2 separate regions of the Homo sapiens genome follow, and region 2 is linked to region 1. Evidence: promoter capture Hi-C in human tissues and cell types (Jung and others, 2019). All regions are on one chromosome and are shown on one strand. Each heading gives the region's core, a stretch centred on a gene start or on the middle of the fragment in contact. The rest is flanking DNA. Distances are from core to core; before and after follow the strand shown. Region 1 holds the start of DNAJC19 (DnaJ heat shock protein family (Hsp40) member C19). Region 2 overlaps SOX2-OT (SOX2 overlapping transcript).

Region 1 (4,191 bases), core at 484-2,983:
CTTACAAGACTGCAGTGATTCAGTCACAAGTCAAGGAATGCTGGCAGTCACCAGAAGCTAGAAGAAATGAGGAATGATTATCCATTCATCAGTCAGTGGACATTTAAAAAGATTACTTTTCAAGGCTGTTTCTAGGATCTTGGCAGGTAGGTAAGAGGCAACCAGACTTAAGATTCATGAGTGAGGTATCATGAGAATGAGGAAGGCTTCTACACTCCAATTTGCACTCTGGCTTCCCTCATAATAATAGCCCCACACTGAGTGATGACCATAAGCAGAACACAATATGTGCATAATCTCTACGTTCACAAAAACTCGGCAAGGTAGTTATCATTACCTTCATTTTACAAATGAGGAAGAAACTCAATCAGAAATAACTTTTCCAAGTCACAGTATTAGTAAGTGACAGAGCCAGGTTACCTCCAGTTTGATCTGCCACCAAAAAAAGAGCTATCTCCAGCTCAACAAAATGTCTTGCTGTGTTGCTACTCCCAATTTCCTGAGTCTGGGTTTTGTAAAGTCTCAAAGCTAATTAGAGTCTACTGTAAATCTATTCCTCCAGAAACTGCATTACACAGTTTGTACATACCAAAAATATGCATAATAAATTTTTCCAGATAGCATTCTAGCTTGTTGATGCCAATTTGGTCCCAAGGTCTTATGCCTCACTTGATTATTTATTTTGTAATTGTTGGGTAAAAACCAGATAAAAGAGAGGCAAAAGAGGAAGTTATAAACTTAATGCTAGTGTCTTAGTGCTGGATGTCACCTTAAATCATGTGTTGACAATAAATTACATCACAAAAACCTTAGCGCTAGAAGAGCTCTTGGATTATCAAATGCAAACTGCTTTTACAGATGAGGAAAACAAACCCAAAAATTTTGCATATTTGTTTAATAACTAACAAACTCATCAAAGCAGAATTGCATTGCAATGTAAACGGATATTTAACACTGTAAATTCTGAGTGGGAAGTAACTCCAAACTTATTTTGATCATGCAAACGTTGCATTGTAAAATTCCATTATTGTCTCCATTATTTTTTTCTTCTCAAGCATTTATGTAGGGATGTATGAAACTGATGTCCACGTAAGGGCAAAATCCAGCCCTACTTTTTATTTTGGGTGAGGAGGAAAACTTTTAAATAGCCCTTTTCAGTTGTAGGATCTTGACATTCCATGTTCAGAATATGAACTGTCTTTAATCCCATTCTACAAAACGAAAACCCAAATATTCACAAAGTCTTGTCAAGTCACATCCTTAAATGAAGTTCTTTTACATTAAAAAATGCTACCGAGCAATCCCTGAAACACAGTGTGGTTGGTTTCATTTGTTTTTCTGGGCATCTCGTTTCCTACACTGGGTTACAACATATTTGTTTGGGTTCGTGGTGGAAATGTCACAGCATGTTTAACTACATTCATTACCCTTGACAATTATTAACATAAAATAAAGGCAAAACGAGGTGCTAAGATGTAGGGGGAAAAAATCGGTCTGAGTAAGGCTGCCCATGCCCTTCCCTGCAAGAATTTCCAAATACCCACCGCCCAGGAGCAAAGGACAGAAAACACAGAGAAGCCCCACCCCTACACCCAGAAATAAAGAGATCCGCCCACCCTTCAACCAACCCGAAGTCGCTTTCTCCGCTCTGTCCACTGCTTGAGCGACTTTCCTTCTCCTCCGCGTCCCCTTTTACGACAGTTTTCCGGCCTAGTTTGCGGCTGCTCCTGCCGTGTTGCGTAGGGCGCCTGTGCTTGAGGTTGGGGGTTGCGTCGCTCTCTGGTAAAGGCGTGCAGGTGTTGGCCGCGGCCTCTGAGCTGGGATGAGCCGTGCTCCCGGTGGAAGCAAGGGAGCCCAGCCGGAGCCATGGTGAGTGCGGCCTTCCGGTCTTCTTGGCGACCTCCGGCCCAGGCCTCAACCTCAGCTCCCCGCCTCGGAGGTGTGGAGTTGAAGTTGTGCTCCTTAGTGCGACTGCGGGCGGGAGGTTTCGGTTATTGGGGAGTCACACTCACCAGGACACAACCCTGTTGGCTCGCTCTCTTGGGGGTTTGTGTTTTTACATCGTCTTTCTGCACGGTTCTCCAGCTTCTTGTCCGCACGGGCTCTGCAGGTGTTGCTTGCCTGGAACTCCTGTAAGGTCAGAGGCTGTCATGGACTCGGAGATTAGTGGAAACGTATTTGATTATAAGTGCCCTTGCCCTAACACATCTTCACAGCACTAGCTCCACTTTGCTATGTCCTTCTCTTTGGCTTTTGCTGACAGATGTCTTCTCCATGCTTCCTGAACATATTTGGGCCTGTCTTGTTAGGAAACAACAGGGCAGTGCCAAAGGTATTAGTCTCCTAGTTTAGCCCACGTTTAGCCTCGAAAATGCGTTGTTAGAATTTTACAGGAGCCGTCTGTAAACAGTTTTTCCTTCTGTAGCAGAAACCTTATTTCCACATTTTTTTTTTTTTTTTTGAGACAGAGTCTTGCTCGGTCGCCTAGGCTGGAGTGCAGTGGCACAATCTTGGCTCACTACAAGCTCCGCCTCCCGGGTTCGCCATTCTCCTGCCTCAGCCTCCCAAGTAGCTGGGATTACAGGCGCCCACCACCACGCCCAGCTAATTTTTTTTTTTTTTGTATTTTTAGTAGAGACGGGGTTTCACCATGGTAGCCAGGATGGTCTCGATCTCCCGACCTAGTGATACGCCCGCCTCGCCTCCCAAAATGCTGGAATTACAGGCGTGAGCCACCGCGCCTGGCCTATTTCCACTACTTTTGATTGAACTTTAATGTGACTTAATTTGTCTGGTGATGAAAGAAGTTTTCAAAGGGAGGGAATCATCTTTTTCACTATTGTAAAGATAAATAAGCAAGTCGAACTTGCCCTCTTTCCCATATGATGAATCCTGTAACTTTAATGCATTCAGCATAACAGATGCAGTAGTTTTAAAGATTACTGGACAGAATATTTCCGCCTTAAAAGTTGTTTCTCTGCCAGGCATGGTGGCTTATGCCTATAATCTTAGCACTTTGGGAGGCCAAGGTGGGAGGATTGCTTGAGGCCAGGAGTTCAAGACCAGCCTAAGCAACATAGCAAGACTCCGTCTCTTAAAAAAAAAAAAAAAAAAAGAAAAAAAAAAGTTGTTTCTCCTATTAAAATGCAGTTTGTAATGAGTTGGGGATGGAAGAATGGGCAAAATGAGAAAGGGTGGGAATTAGAGAAGTAAATATTTACTCTTCTCCCCCTTACCAGGCCAGTACAGTGGTAGCAGTTGGACTGACCATTGCTGCTGCAGGATTTGCAGGTTTGTTTATGGTTTGGGGATGGAAGTGAAGTCGGGGAGATTGGAGATTTAGTTTACTTATTCTGTTGCTTTTGGTTTTAGGCCGTTACGTTTTGCAAGCCATGAAGCATATGGAGCCTCAAGTAAAACAAGTTTTTCAAAGCCTACCAAAATCTGTAAGACTTTGTTAATTCTTTGCTGCTTCTATTTGAAACCTAGAGCCACACTTAGGGAAGGGTAAATTTCCAAATATCCATGAAGTTCTAAGTGATTGCTTTGGACCCATTCTCCTGCTTCCTGCAAGGAGAGTATAGAAGTTCTGAACTTTGTGATGGTGCTACCCTGAAACATCAGATGTTATATGTGACAGAGTTGGATGGGGTTTTGACAATTCTAGTACCCCACTAGACCCAAGTTTCACTTTTTCACATACCATCACCTTCAGCATCATCTGTACATATTCTTGTTTTCCTTCATCTGCTCTGCATCGCACACACAGAGGTATATGATTCTAAAGTGATCCGATCTGACCATGTGGCCCTGGCACTCCCAAACATCATACATAGGTAGCACTCTAGTTAATTAGGCTATAGGGTTTGGCTTGATGTTATGGTCATACTCTCTGTGGTCACAGTTAAGAATAGATTTGGCTGTGATCACCTGTTGAATATGTTGTGATTAAGTGTAACAGAATAGAGTGATTGTAGGCTTTACCAATATGATTTCTGACATGGCAAGGTCAGAGGACCTAATAGTGGTATTTTCTGTATATATATCTTAAAGTCTTGTTTCAAATACACTTGAACCTCTTGTCTCAAAAGACTTCTGTTCTTGAGCCACTTCTTGCAGATTTTTATCTAGAATATGGCTAATTTGGAATGATCTTTCCTTTACTCCCGGAAGACCTGGCTTTCAGACACT
Region 2 (4,271 bases), core at 1,686-4,185, 180 kb before region 1:
CTTGACACAATCAGTCGTCGTACACACTCATGTTAGCAATTTCTCACATCTACTGATGATAAGATAAGGAAGTTCGTTTATGTATGGACCAATAAAACAAAGATGTAGTATTATCTGAGGTATATATACAAATGACTCCACATTTGTATAAAATTGGACTTTCTATGTTCTTAAGGGAGCCCTGGATCCTTGGATTCTCTTAACCATTCAGGAAGATCCCAAATTCAGGGTTATTAAAGAGGAATTAAACAACAGCGGTGGGAGTGCACAGGCAGGCTCTTCCCACTATTGGTGTGAACATGGACTGGTGGGAACATTCTGGAGGGCAACTGGACAACATGCCTTTAAGTTTAAAAGTTTTCCTAGCTCTCGACCTAGTTATTTCACCTCTAGGAACCCTCCCAGTAGAAACTATCAGAAATGCAGATAAAGATTTTTTTTCCCCAAGAAGATACTTATCATACAGTGAGTCAGGTAGGATAGTGGTTAAGATTACAAAGTAGAGAGCCAGTGGTTAGATTACAAATTAGAGAGCCAGACTAGCTAGAGTAACAATTACAACTTGACCAACTTCCAATCGCAAGGTGAGACTTTGGTTGTTAACCTCTCTATACCTCAGTTTTCTTGCCTGCAAAATGGGGATCTCAAAAGTGTTATGAGAATTAAATGAAGAGGAAATATATGTAAGGCATTAAAGCACTGACTAGCACATAGTAAGTACTGAATAATTATTGGATATTGCTATTATTATAAATGCTCTAAACCTAGATAATTATTAACTGAATCATGATAAATACAACACAATTTAATATGTCCATTAAAGATCATGCCTTCAAATAATTCTTAATGACATAGAGAAATATTCATACTAGGTTAAAAAATCAGGACATGAAACCATATATTACGGTATCTCAAATATATATATAATACCTATGTATGTGTTTAAAATGGCAATAGTATTTCTTTTTGGATAAAGTACTTTCAAATGGTTTTAATTTTCTTGTTATAATTTTTAATTTCCATAAAACATTTTAAATTATTATTATTATTATTTAAGACAGAGTTTCGCTCTTGTTGCCCAGGCTGGAGTGCAATGGCGCGATCTTGGCTCACTGAAACCTCCGCCTCCTGGGTTCAAGTGATTCTCCTGCCTCAGCCTCCCAAGTAGCTGGGATTATAGGCATGCAGCACTACGCCCGGCTAATTTTGTATTTTTAGTAGAGACGGGGTTTCTCCATGTTGGTCAGGCTGGTCTCGAACTCCTGAGCTCAGATGATCCACCCACCTCAGCCTCCCAAAGTGCTGGAATTATAGGTGTGAGCCACCGCACCTGGCCTAAATAATTGTTTAAACTCTTACTCTTATAACAGTTCATGAAGAAGGAGTTGCAGTAGGTGCACCATTTCATAGCACTGTATGCTGTTTGGTTTCCCTGTAACCTGGCCTACCTCTATTTGATAGCACTGTATGTGTAGCATACAGTGTAGCATAAAGTCAGAATCTATGCCAAAATTCACTCTGGTGCTCAGCACTAAGATCTGGAAATGAGCTGTACTTCCAGAACTGGGAAGTAAGCTTAAATTCTAAAATTTAAAGAAGGAAAATCCAAATATATTGGATTCACAAAATTTCCTGACCTAAGAAGCTATCAGCATATGGGTTACCAAAGGCATTTTGACAATGGAGAATTCAGAAAAATGACTCAGGAATGAACTTGGAAAGATATGTATATGCCAATATGTCCAGGTTAGAGAAATCAATGAAACCAAGAGTTAGCCTTCTGAAAAGATAAATGTAAAAATCAACTTATACAGGCTGTGTGCAAAACCAACAGCTTCAGTCCAATCAATTAGGAGCAACAGACAAAACGGACAAATCATAAGAAATCTCAGTAACAAGGTCCAAGTAGTGATCTAATCAATTGCAGGAGTGTCTAAATAGAGAGACTAGGTTGCATCTAACAAAGGGACTCTCTATGTGAATTCTTTTAAAAGGGGGTAATAAGTAAGCACTTGTCCCTTCCTTTCTTCCTACCCACAGGGGAGCTAGAACCTGGGGGCAGGAAGGGAGGTTGATGGGAGAGCAGACCCTATCCTCCCACCCCTCCTTGTTCCTCAGTCAAACCTGATCCAGGGTTCAGGGAAACAGTGGAGAGGAGGAGAGCCTAGAGTGTTTTAATTAGACTGTACTAGTCTTTAGTAACTAAGTGTCTGGGAAGTTATGGAATCTTCCAAGGTATCATTAACAGTCAGGAATGCAACAGGGCAAAGTTAAAGGTGGAGAAGAGTGAACTCAATTTGGATTACTCAGTACAGGAATTACATGTGTATTATGTCTTTGTTGAAGGAAAACGTATCAAAGCTAGACTTTTCAAGAAACTTCAATTCATAAAAAGCAAAGGTCAAGAACATGAAAGTACCATATGATTCAGCAATTGCACTTCTGTGTATATGCCCAAAAGAACTGAAAGCAGGGATTCAAACAAATATCTGTACACCAGTGTTCATAACAGCACTATTCACAATAGCTAAAAGGTAGAAGCAACCCAAAAGTCCACCAATGGATGAATGGATAAGCAAAATTTGGTATATACATAGAAGGGAATATTAGCATTAAAAAGTAAGGAAATTCTGACACACCCTACAACATGCATGAACCTCGGAGATATTATTCTAAGTAAAATAAGCTACTCACAAAAGGACAACTATGGTATGAGTCCACTTATACGAGGTACCTAGAGCAGTCAAATTCATAAAGACGGAAAGTAGAATGGTGGCTTCTGGGGACTTGGAGGAGGGAATGAAGGGGTAGTGTTTTATAGGAACAGAGTTTCATTTAGGAAAGATGAAAAAGCTCTGCAGATGGATGGTAGTGGTGATTGCACAACAATGTGAATGTACTTCATGCCACAAGTTGTATACTTAAAAATTGTTAAAATGGTAAATTTTATGTTTTGTATATTTTACTACAATTCCAAAAAGGAATATAAAAATCTTGTTTCCTAAACTCCTCAATTATTTTATTTTATTATCATCCAGTATAACAGAATTAAAGAAAAGGGAAAAAAGGAGAGGAGAAAAAATGGGAGGGGAGGGAAAGGGAGAGGATAAAGAGAGAAATGAAGGGGAGAGGCAGCAAGGGAGGGAAAAAAGGGAAGGGCTGCTATATGCAGTCAGCTGTGCAATTTGTACACTTCACCCAGATACCAGAGGGGCAAATGGGGGTAAACTTCAGTCAGGAGTTATGCTGACTGAGTTGCATGCCCTGGGGCTGGACTTCAACAGGTGGGAGGAAGGGATGTCATTTTGTAATTCGTCTGTCCAGAGGGGACATCATTTGTTAATTTGCAGAATGGCACTGTATGTATCCACAGGCCTTGGAAGAGAGACAGATTGGTATGTGAACAGATTTGGTGGCTCACACCTGTAATCCCAGCACTTTGGGAGGCCGAGGCAGGTTTTCTTTCAAGAGAAGAATAAAAACTTGAAAATATCAGAATACAATGTCTGTACTAGGCATAAGCGTTTTTAATAACAATTTTGCTGCACTTGTATGTGTGTGTGCATGCATATTGGTCATGATCTAAAATGCATTTCTGAGTGAAGGTAACAACCACAAAAAGCTTGAGGCATTTGACTTCTCTAAATTCAGAGATTACATCAGAAGGGCTTCAGAGCTTTGCCATGGCATTCATACCTCTATTATAAAATGAATTGGATTTTACAAAAGTAAATTTTTGTATGTCTATTTCCCCATCAGACCACAGGATCCTTCATGGAAGGGCCTATAACTTCTCCATCTTTGAAAATCAACTCAGCACAATGCATTTTTGTTGAATGAAATAATAAATGAGGCTGGGCGCAGTGGCTCACACCTGTAATCCCAGCACTTTGGGAGGCCGAGGTGGGTGGATCACCTGAGGTCAGGAGTTCAAGACCAACCTGGCCAACATGGTGAAATCCCGTCTCTACTAAAAAAATACAAAAAATTAGCCGGATGTCATGGCGGGCGCCTGTAATCCCAACTACTCAGGAGGCTGAGGCAGGAGAATCGCTTGAACCCAGGAGGCAGAGGTTGCAGTGAGCCAAGATTGTGCCATTGCACTCCAGCCTGGGCTACAAGAGTGAAACTCTGTCTCAAAAAAAAAAAAAAAAAAAAAAGAATAAATGATAGCATTAATAAAATACGTTCAGAAAAAGACAAATAGCTCCTGGTGTTGAGGCAGGAGAAACAAAGGATAGAATCACACTTTTGACGGTGATACAGGTTCT

Evidence for each region. Contacts are between HindIII fragments. The study calls those that stand out against the background at their distance.
Region 2: a contact is called between a fragment that was not itself captured here and the fragment with the promoter of DNAJC19 in region 1, in 1 of the 25 tissues and cell types used here (hippocampus).

What each region holds. Positions count from the first base shown.
Region 1 is chr3:180,987,278-180,991,468 of GRCh38, reverse strand. It overlaps DNAJC19 (DnaJ heat shock protein family (Hsp40) member C19), which reads left to right and starts at 1,733. Exons shown (of 6, transcript NM_145261.4): 1 at 1,733-1,869; 2 at 3,240-3,291; 3 at 3,373-3,446. The coding sequence starts at 1,867. The HindIII fragment of the contact is 9,710 bases long and covers 1-4,191 here.
Region 2 is chr3:181,169,126-181,173,396 of GRCh38, reverse strand. All of the region lies in intron 2 of SOX2-OT (SOX2 overlapping transcript), which reads right to left. Among named protein-coding and RNA genes, the nearest start is that of SOX2-OT, 110 kb to the right of the region's middle. The HindIII fragment of the contact is 4,390 bases long and covers 741-4,271 here.